2 separate regions of the Homo sapiens genome follow, and region 2 is linked to region 1. Evidence: promoter capture Hi-C in 16 types of primary human blood cells and fetal thymus (Javierre and others, 2016). All regions are on one chromosome and are shown on one strand. Each heading gives the region's core, a stretch centred on a gene start or on the middle of the fragment in contact. The rest is flanking DNA. Distances are from core to core; before and after follow the strand shown. Region 1 holds the start of PRR7 (proline rich 7, synaptic). Region 2 holds the start of LMAN2 (lectin, mannose binding 2).

The links. The method cuts DNA at HindIII sites, captures the fragments that hold promoters and counts their contacts. A CHiCAGO score of 5 or more calls a contact.
Region 2: a contact is called between the fragment with the promoter of LMAN2 here and the fragment with the promoter of PRR7 in region 1, in 1 of 17 cell types (non-activated CD4 T cells). The highest score is 7.7, in non-activated CD4 T cells.

The regions. Positions count from the first base shown.
Region 1 is chr5:177,443,697-177,449,021 of GRCh38, forward strand. It overlaps PRR7 (proline rich 7, synaptic), which reads left to right and starts at 3,118. Exons shown (of 4, transcript NM_030567.5): 1 at 3,118-3,264. It overlaps PRR7-AS1 (PRR7 antisense RNA 1), which reads right to left and starts at 4,248. Exons shown (of 3, transcript NR_038916.1): 1 at 3,948-4,248. RefSeq lists a silencer at 2,743-3,832 and an enhancer at 3,775-4,403. The HindIII fragment of the contact is 1,481 bases long and covers 2,483-3,963 here.
Region 2 is chr5:177,348,992-177,354,422 of GRCh38, forward strand. It overlaps LMAN2 (lectin, mannose binding 2), which reads right to left and starts at 2,677. Exons shown (of 8, transcript NM_006816.3): 1 at 2,461-2,677; 2 at 2,182-2,300. The coding sequence starts at 2,656. RefSeq lists enhancers at 2,618-2,807, 2,818-2,867 and a silencer at 2,762-2,976. The HindIII fragment of the contact is 10,936 bases long and covers 83-5,431 here.

The DNA.
Region 1 (5,325 bases), core at 1,868-4,367:
CATGTGAGCTTTGTAGCTGACAGTTCCAGGTTCAAGCCCCAGCCTGGCCACTTTTCAAGTTGGCCCTGCACAGGCGCTTCCCTGATATGGAAAGGTAGGTGTAAGACCCATCACCTTTCTGGGCAGCTGTGAGAATCCACCAAAGCAGCCAGCCAGCCCCTTGAGTTCCCAAGCCACCGCAGGACTCCCACCTGCTGGGGAGTGGTGCTGAGTACCAAACTAACCACCTGGCTTAAGCACAGCCAGAAGGTGCCAAGCCAGCAGCCTGGCAGAAGGGGCCTTTTGTGGCCCCACTCATGACATGTGGAGTGCCTGCTGCTTCCCACCAACCTAAGGGAAGTAAGGGGAGTGGGGACCTGCTCAAGGTCTTCCAACTGGTTAAGTGGCCATTGCAGGGTGGGGAGGAAACCAGGTAATGATGGGAAAGCTGGATCCTACCCATGTATCATGAGAAAGGAGCCTGGGGTGGGTTTGCCCCTCTGCCCCAGGCTGTTATGAGGTGGGAGTGGGGGATTTTTAGGTAGGTGTTAGCATGTCATACCAAAGCCCAGCCCTGGGCAGGTATGCAAGAGAGCGCGTGCCAGGTGGATGTGCAGGACCCTGAGGCACTCTGCCTGCACCTGGATCAGGACACCCTGGCCAGCTCCCCCTTGGGCTAGGGAGGCATCCAGGGAACTTCTTGGCTAGGGTTAAACTCACCTTAAAGCTCTTAACACAGTGGGTCCTTGGCAGAGGGAACTCCCAGAATTCATTTCCCAAGAAGCTTCCCTGAGCTGTCCTCCATGCCCAGCTCTATGGTGGGAACTGGGACCCAGATGGAGACGAGGCCCCTGGCAGCTTGGAGCTCAGTCTGGTAGGGAGGCAGACGTGGGAACAGCGGGACCCAGTGTGATCAGCACTGTGGAAGAGAGGATTCTAGAGCTGACAGGGTTGGGGGTGGGGCAGCACCAAACAGGGAGGCCCCTTGACCCTGAAGGTGTCAGAATTGGTGCCCTCCAGGACACAGGGTCAGATGTACCCAAGTAGAGGAGCCAGATGGATGGTCTAGGGCTTTAGTGGTTTAGGATGGCTGAGCATGGGAGGCCAGGGGTGGAAGCAAGGAATGGCTGGAGCTGAAGTCAGTGAGACACAGCCAGCTTTGAAAGCTAGATTAAGGATCACAGGGTTAAGGCCCAGATGGGGCCTCATCTGGAAGGTAGGGGATTCCCTGAAGGGTTTTTACTGGTTGTGTTGGGGTGTTTGCTCCAGCATGTACAAAAGCACCCCCAGTCTCTGTCCATGTGGTTTAGACGGGGCTGGGCTTGCACCCCCTGCACACGCATACTCCACACACATACCTAGAGTGAGAGAGCCAGGTGGGAATGTTGCAAGTGACAGAACTGTCCTCCCGCTAACTTAGAAGGTGTTCCAAGGATATGGAGGAGCTTCGGGGTCTTAGTTGTGGGCTCCATTCTCATCAGGAGACACCCACCAGAACCAAGATGATAGAGCCATTTGGTTTTGCCTCTTTGAGCCCAGTTGCAAACTCAAGGAGTCTGAGTGGCCAGGCTGGATACCTGCCTGCTGTGCACTGTCAGGGAGCAGGGCACTTGGGTTCACAGTTTCACCAGGATGGCACCCGTGGGGCAGTGATTCCCCCATTGAAATCAGGGTGCCTGTATACAAAGAAAAGGGAGCGGGTACTGGGAGGCCATTCCCTTTGCATAAGGAGCACATATCCTCTCCCTTAACACACAGGCACTTAGATTGGTTCACTGATAGAGACTCAGCCCAAATGAGTCCAAAAAGAATCATTCATGGAGTTGTTTGCTTGTATTTTGCTCAAATGATGGGGAAGGAATTGGGGTTCCGTTTTCCTCCAGGGATAGATGGCAGGATATGAGCCTAGGGCTGTTGGGGTTGTCCTCGCTACTTCTTGGGGTGAGCTTGCCTGAGAGTGATGCAAACAGAAGCAGATACGTGCCTGACACCATTGCGGGAACACCTGGAAGCAACTGTGACCAAAGCTAGAATCTACCCTGGGACTTGCCAGTTGCATGAACCAGTCCCCTTTGAGCTCAAAGCTTTTTCTTTTCTTTCTCTTTTTCTTTCTTTTCTTTCTTTCCTTTCTTCTTTCTTTCTCTTTTATTTTTCTTTCTTTCTGTCCTTTCTCTTTCTTCTTTCTCTTTTTTTTTTTGAGACAGGGTCTCACCCCCTCCCTTAGGCTGGAGTGCGGTGGCGTGATCTCGGCTCACTGCAACCTCTGCCTCCCGGATTCAAGCGATTCTCCACAGGCGTGCAGATTTTTTTTTTTTTTTGGTAGAGACGGGGTACAGCTCAAACCTATTTGTTTGGGAGTTCTGTCACTTCAACCCCAAATGTTCCAGCTAATATGGTGGTGGAGGGGTTTTTGGCAAATCATCTTAAGTGCAGTAGAGAAGTTGGACGAAAAACAGCCCAGTTAAGAGGCCGATGGACAGCCAACTTCAGAGTGGCCTCTGCAAGCTTGGACCTCGGGGTAGACAGTGGGGCGCTCTCTAGGGGTCATCTGTTCCCTGCTGGGGTAGGGGGGAGGCATGTCCACGGAGGCCAGGGCTGTGGGTTCGGCACTAGGTCCTCCTCCCCGTGGCTTCCTAGTAGGCATGTGGTGGTGTACGCCTGCTGGGCACCTAGCGAGAGGGGTCGTGAGTTGGGAGGGAGCCACGTTGGGGTGCCTGCCTGCTCGGGGGCCCCTGCCCACTGCGTGTGCGCAGCGCCTGTCAGGATGTGACGGGGACCTGGACATGTGTGTGCTCTCCGAGCTGAGCTGTGTGCGCGTCCGGGTTCTCGACCTCAGCTGCCTGGCTGTGCATCCAGCGTGCACGACCGGTGTGGCCTGGGCTCCAGCCTGGAGTGTGGACCGGGTCGGCCGGCGTGTGCCTCCCCTGTGAGGGTGCCCTGGCGGGTGTGAGCCCGGCGGGCTGGAGAACCGGGTCTCGGCGCCGCAGGTGGGTGACCGTCCTCCCCCTCCTTCCCTCCGGGGGCAGCCTCCTCGCGGCGTGTGGCTGGGGGTGCGGGGCCCTCTGCCGGCTGCCGCGCGCGCGCACGCCGGGCTCAGCACCCGCCGTGTACGCGCCCGTGCGCGCGCCCCGCGCCTCCAGCCCAGCGCTCGGAGCCGCTTTCGCTGCCACTGTCTGCTCCCCCGGGCCGCCGCCGCCTCCCCCCGCAGGCCCGGGGCTCTGTCCGCTGGGCCCGCGCTGCTCGCCCCGAGCCAGGAGAACGAGCTCGAGGAGGATGCCTGGGCCCGTGAGTACCGCGGCGGCTGCGGGCCGGGCGGGCACGGAGCGCGGGCGGAAGATGGTCCCAGGACTGAGCCCTTCCCCGCGGGCGGCTCAGCGCCCTGGCCCCGGGTCGCCGCCCCGGTCCCCCGCCCGGGCCGCGAGCAGCCCCTCCCCCAGTCCACACCGGAGGGAGGGAGAGCGCCAGTGAGCGAGGGAGCCGGAACGGGGCGCGAGCCGCCACCAGTTCGCTTGGAAACGGTTGCCACAGCAACGGGGTTGCGCTCCCCGGCAACACGACTGCGGGGCGGCGACGCCCCCTCCCCCTCCCTCCCCCCTCCCCCGACGCGGGCCCACAGCCCGGGGGTGCAGGGGGAGAGGGGTGCGCGGCGGGGGCATGTCGCCCCTCTGGCCCGGCTGGGTGTGCCTGCCTCCACAGCCCGTCGAGGGTGGGGGTGGGGGCGAACGGCCGTGGGCACGAGCTGGCTCCCACGTGGCTGCAGTCGTCGCAGCAGGGCTCCTGGGGTGGCTGCAAACGTGGGGGCGGCCCAGCCCCTGGGCTTGTCACGGGAGGAGGAGGCATGGAGGCTGGCGCTGGGGTCTTTGCCCATAGACCCCCCACCCACCCACCCACCGCCGCCACCACCTAATCGCGCCGGCCCTGGACATGGCCTGAGCCGAGCTGGGTTCCCCAGGGGCGACGTTTCTTACCAGGGTAGAGGAGCGAAGCTTGCATCCCTCCTCCTCCTCACGGCCGAGGCACGTGCCAAACCGGGCATGGGCCCGCGGTGAGTCTCTGCTCCGTGTTCCTAGCCACCATTCTCCAGGGAGGGGTGGAAGCAGAGTGGGCAGGAGCAGAGGAAAGGATATTGCTGACCCAGGGAAGCTGAAGCCCAGGCCAAATGGGAGCGACCCAGCCCATTGTCTGGATCACAAGTGCCCCTTTCTTGTCTGAGCACAATGCCCCAACTGTACTGAGTAGCATGCAGGTTGGCCGGCAGGGAGGCACGCGCCACATGGAGGTGCCTGGTCCGCCAGGGGAGCTCCTCTGGGAGGAGAATGGCCTCTGACTCAGAGGAAATGACCTCTGGCTCCCCTCCCAACCTCCCCTCAGCGGGCATCATGCTGGAGAGAGAAATGGCCCTCCTGCCAGCTCTCCCAGGCCTGACTCAGCAGATGCCAGCCCCGACCGCGGGCTTCAGATCCAGGATCCCAGCGACCACAACCGTCCTTGGGTTTCCTTTCCCATCCGGGGAGGCATCCTAGAGGTGACTGGCATCTGGGGCATTGGAGGCCTTGGCATAAGATGCCCTTAGATGGGTGGTGCCCTGGAGGTCAGGCCTGAGTCTCCTGCAGGCAGGGGCGCCTGGGGAATTACTCACGGGTGCCTTTCATTCCCTTCCTGCTCTGTGAGACCTGTGTTGAGTGCTCTGCATCCATTATCTCCTAATTTTTTTTTACAACAGTTGCGCAAGGTAAGTTTATTATCCCCATTTTAGAGATGAAGACTCTAAAGGGAGGCTCAGGGAGGTGAGTGACTTGCCCAAGGTCACACTACCAGTAAGTGGCAGAGCTGAGTCTACACTGCAGGCTTCTCTGGGGGCAAAGCTCCTCTCTGCCTGCTAGCTAACTTCTCTTGTAACCCAGGAGAAGAACTGTAGAGCCTTCTTCCTTCACTTTCCTCCAGTGAGGACATTCCCTGTCTTTCGGGTCTTGGTACATTTTTCCTTCTTCCAGCTAAATCAGCCACATTCTTGCTCCCCCAGATGCATTATAGGATGGGGCCAGCTTTCTCCCTCCCTTCTTCACTTCCTCCCTCCCTCCATTTTCTCCGGTGAGACCAAGCAGCAAAGGGCTGCCTCAGTCCCCTGGGAAAACCCCAAGCCCTGGTCCTCGGCTCATGGGCTCCATGGCCTGCTCAGCTTGCAGTCTTGGCTGTGGGAGAGAAAATTTAGCAAAGATGGGTCCATGCACTGCTGCAGCCTGTGGGTGCTCAGTCTAGCTCCAGGCATTGGAAACCCACATGCTTCCAAGGATCAGGGGGGAAATGGAATGAGTGAGGCGGGCCAGGGAGCCGCTCAGCTCCAAT
Region 2 (5,431 bases), core at 1,427-3,926, 95 kb before region 1:
GTCATCCTTTGCAAATACTTAAACCTAATGACAAACAATTTTTGATGCCAACTTTTCAAAAGGTTGCTACAACAGCAAAGAAAGCTTAAAGACCACTGCCGCAGCCTCCGCACAAGACCCCCAAAAGGACAGGGCCTGAGCAGCCTCCCCAGGTCCTATGCTGCAGCCACCAGGCACTTAAGAGTTCTAGTCAACTCTGAGCCACTCCTTCATCTAGACCACCCCCCCTGCACCACAGCAGGAGCTATTTTATGGCTGCTCAGAAGACAGCAGGTGTTCAGGGAATGTTCGCCTGAGTGCATGCCTCTCCCGGATGGAGTGAATGAAGGAGATAAAAAAGGGAAAAGTTTAGGAAGCATCTCTCCAGCTCATTAAAGGAAGAGGCAGTTCTTGGGAAACACTGAACAGAAAATTCTGATTTCCAAGCCATTTCTTTCCAGAGTTTACAGGAAGCACTCCAAATGTTTCAGGAATATCAGCAGAGCCAAATAGAAAGGTGGAGGAAGGAAGGCAAAACAATTGTACTCCAGACTGAAAATTCGATGAAGGCAAGTGCAGAAGCCTCTCAGTCCTGTGACATCCTCGAGCCACTGATGATGCCAACCATCAGCTATCTACAACCAAAATGTAAGCCACTGTCTTAGATGCGTCTATTACTTGTGGCTACTCCTGATTTCTACAGTTCCAGCACTGTTTGCACCTTGCTTTCAAAAAATAATAATAATGCTATACTGAACTCATTTCCATGAAAAATATAAGGCTGAATTATCATTTCTTTAAAATATCTGAAAGCCCTAAGACAGAATGTGACAGAATGTGACTCGGGGGAGATAGGGTGGTTAATGAAGAAATGTCTGCGTGGGTGGCACTTGAATTGAGACTTAACAGATGAGAAGGAACCAAGCAGGCATGAGGAGCCAGGAGGCAGTGTCCCAGACAGAGGGAACAACAGGTGCAAAGGTCCTGAGGCAAGAAGGCAGCCAGGGGGGGCTGGAACAAAATTAACACAGAGAATGACTGGAGATGCACAAGGGGCCAGATTGTGCAGACATAATGCATGCTTACCCCTTCACAGGGGACTCCACGCTCTGAGGATCAGACTGAAAGCTGAAGAAAGTATCCGCAGATGCCACTAACAGCAGTGTGGAGGCTCGGGGCAGGAAGGAGAGGAGGAGCAGAGGGGACGGGCAGACCAGGCAACACAAGGACAGTGTGGGTTCCCAGAACTAAACAAGAAAGTCAACCAGCAGGGATCAGAGAGCAGGGTGATGGAGAAAACTAGAACACTGGCCAACAGCTTAAGCCATGGGAAGGGCTGAGATTAGGCAAGCTGGGGCAGGAGCAGGTCCCGCTCCAAGCTGTAACCCAGCCCCAAATTATTCTTCTTTCCCCTTTTTCCTCACCTTGACTGCCTCAGTGTGGATTCTGTGTAGCAGCTGTCATTGGCCACTGCTCACATACTACATACTACATACTCTGAGGCAAAGGTCACAGACACTAGAACTGCCCACAGGTCCAGTCCCTCCACACTACTGATGACAAGACCCTCAACCAAGCATTGCAAAAAGGGTTCTAAGGGGTTCCTCCACTGTCCAGGTGAAAAGAGTCAAGTACATCGAGTGAACTGCTGGGCTTAGAGATCAGACAAATCAGAGTTTAAATACTGTTTATGACATTTGCTAGCTGGGTTATCTTTGTATAGTCATGAAAGCCATCTATTTCAAACAGCTTGTTTGAAAATTAAATGCAATAAGGCATGGCAAGGTCAGTGCCTAATACACAGCAAAACACCCAATAAAGATCCAGTTCGCTCGGTTCTTCCCATTACTGAGGGGGTTCAAGGCAGACAGCCTGACAGTTCCACTACTTTCTGGCTATGTAACTTTGGGTAAGGCCCTTTCAAACCTGAGTCTTAGCTTCTCAGTGGGTAAAATGGAGATAACATTACTCATCTCGCATGGCTTTTAAAGTGAGGAGGATGTAAAGTGTCAAGCGCAGCTCCTGACACATAGTAAGTACCCAATACCCATCGCCTCTTATTATTGGTGGGTGTGACCGAGATGAGGAAAAGGCCAGGGACGGAGGTGCAAACCTATAAACGAAGCTGGGGTCTCAGCTGCTCGGGAGGCAGGGACTAGCAGCCAACCGCACAGTACGCCTATCCTCTTGAGAACCACTCACCTGGTGGTTCCAGATAGAGCCCTCTTTGCTGCGCTCGTCAGGGGTCAGACGTACGTACTGGCTCGTGAGCATAGTGCTGCCCTGGAAGTCCCAGAGGGGCATAGAGCTGGAACCGACCCCTGTGGGAAGAGACAGGTGCTAAGAGGCCACGCCAGGACTGGCCTCACCAGAGGCAGGAAACCCACAGAGATGCTCTGCTCAGGAGAAAGGGCACGCCTTCCCCTAGCCCTGTTCAGCCTCGCCCTCACTCTTCACTCATTCCCGCCCCAAGGGCTTCACCTTGGTAGGGCTTAATGAGCGAATGCTCCCGCTTGAGATGTTCACTGTTGCCGTCAGTTATATCCGCAGTCACAGACCCCAACAACAAAAGAAGAAAGAGAGGTGTAGTGGGGCCAGGGCCGGGGCCGAGAAGCCCAGGCCTTCCCAGGCACCGCCGGCCCCAGCCCCAACGCCAAATCCAGCCTTCCGCCGCCATTCTCCTCTCCTCTCGGCCACTTCCGCCCTAGAACTTCCGCCTTCCGGGGGTCCCATCTATTGGCCTCCGGCCGGAAGCTCTTCAACTTTACTGTCGCCAGGGAGTCAAAAAGCAAAGCCTCCGCAGCAGACGGGGCGGCAGCTGCATTGGCCGGGCAGCCTCTCATCCTGGTTGAGTGCAGTTTCATCTCCTTAGAGGCTCCAAGGCACACGCCGGCCAGCCCCAGCAATGGGTTCTTTCGAGCGACAAGAGCTGTAACCAGTCACGGAACAGCACGTTAGGCTTGCGAGCCAATGAGGAGCAGAGGGATGGTTGGAGCCGGCGGGAGCGCGAGGGCCGTCCGCGACTCGGGGCATGCTGGAATTTGTAGTTTTTGTCGGTCGCTCTAATGGGGCGGATTCGCGAAGACTAGGACGTCTTGGGCTTCTGGCCGCAAGTCCCGTCTCTGGAATAACCTTTTCTAGTCCTGGAGAAAGGAGCTCTGAATTGAAGGCGGAGTCCTGCATTCCAACCCTTGTCCTCCCCGGGTGGCCCTGGGCAAGCCTTTAAGCCGTGCCTGCCGTCAGGCGCCCCAGCTTCGCGCCTTTGGAGACTCAGAATTCCCAATTATTTGAGGGCCTCCACTACCCTCAACTCCTCAGGCCTAGTCGGGTTGAAGCAAGAGGAACAGACACAGATCCTGGCCTGGGACCCCAGTGATGACTGGAACTCATCCCTATGCAAAAGAGCGCAGTGCCTGGTACAGCAAGTAACGTCCATGGAAGGCCCAGGAAAGCTGTGAATCAGAGGTCGAAAACTGGTGGCCTGCAGCTGAATAGAGCTCTGTTTTACCTGCCAATATTCTAATAAATGGCTTAACTACCAGTATTTTAAAGTCAGAATATAGAGGCTGGGCGTGGTGGCTCACGCCTGTAATCCCAGCACTTTGGGAGGCTGAGGCCGGCGGATCACGAGATCGGGAGATCGAGACCATCCTGGCTAGCACGGTGAAACCCCGTCTCTACTAAAAAATACAAAAAATTAGCCGGGCGTGGTGGCAGGTGTCTGTAGTCCCAGCTACTCGGGAGGCTGAGCCAGGAGAATGGCTTGAACCCAGGAGGCAGAGCTTGCAGTGAGCCGAAATCGCGTCACTGCACTCCAGCCTGGGCGACAGAGCGAGACTCTGTCACACACACACACACACACACACACACACACACACACACACACAAAGTCGGAATATGTACATTCACATCAGAAATCCAGACTTCCGGCTGAGCTCAGTGGCTGAGGCCTGTAATCCTAGCACTTTGGGAGGCAGAGGCGAGCAGATTACCTGAGCTCAGGAGTTTCAGACCAGCCTGGGCAACACGGTGAAACCCCGTCTCTACTAAAATACAAAAGAAATTAACGGCGTGGTGGCGGACACCTGTAGTCCCAGCTACTCGGGAGGCTGAGGCAGGAGAATTGCTTGAACCCAGGAGGCAGAGGTTGCAGTGAGCAGAGATCACGCCATTGCATTCCAGCCGGGGCGACAGAGCAAGACTCTGTCTCTACAAAAAAAAAAAAAAAGAAGAAGAAGAAGAAGAAAAGAAATCCAGACTTCCGTTTTTTTACCCAAAAAAAAAAAAAAAGAAGCAGCAGCAAAAGATCTAGGCACACATTCCCACAACAGAACAATAGGCTGGAGCTGAATGGGACTGCCCCTCCACCAATGCCTTCCTCTTCTAAGCTGGTCCCCACCTGGTCACTCGTTTACAGCACTTGCCTGGCTCCTCCAGACATTTGAATCAATGACTCCTGTTGTAGATCACAGGGAGGGATGTTGGTTGCTTGCTCCTTTTAGAAACTGCCCTCTTGAATGAATGGACTTATTCAGGATTGAGTGCTGAATCTTTTCTTGGTCATATATTTTTCGTTCGCTTTTTTATTATTAAAGTCACACATTCTGGTCAGGCACGGTGGCTCACACCTGTAATCCCAGTAGTTTGGGAGGCCGAGGTGGGTGGATCACTTGAGGCTAGGAGTTCGAGACCAGCCTGGCCAACATAGCGAAACCCTGTCTCTACAAAAAATTAGCTGGGTGTGGTGGTGCACACTTGTAATCCCAGCTACTCAGGAGGCTGAGGCACGAGCATCACTTGCACCTGGGAGGTGGAGGTTGCAGTGAGCCAAGATCTTGCCACTGCACTCCAGCCTGAGTGACAGAGTGAGACTCTGTCTCAAAAAAGTCACACATTCTTGTGGTGTGTATGGAAACAGAGAGAGAACAGACATACAAGACACAACAAGCCAGGCATGGTGGCTCACACCTGTAATCCCAGCACTTTGGGAGGCCAAGGCAGGTGGATCACTTGAGGTCAGGAGTTCGAGACTACCCTGGCCAACATTGTGAAACCCTGTTTCTACTAAAAATACAAAAAATTAGCCGGCCATGGTGGCGGGTACCTATAATCCCAGCTACTCAGGAGGCTGAGGCAGGAGAATCACTCGAACCCAGGAAGCGGAGGTTGCAGTGAGCCAAAATTGTGCCATTGCACTCCAGCCTGGGCAACAAGAGTGAAACTCCATCTCAAAAAAAGAAAAGAAAAGAAAAGAAAAGACACAACAAAAGTCTTCTGCCACTCCCCTCGCAAGGAGTGTCCCCTTCCAGAGATTTATCTGCACCCATACAAACAAAAACATGCACATTCCATGGGACCTTCATGGGGCTGGGATTTTTGTCAGCTATGGTCACTACTGAATCCCTGGCATCTAGAATAGTGCTTGTCACATAGGAGGTGATTAATAAGTAAC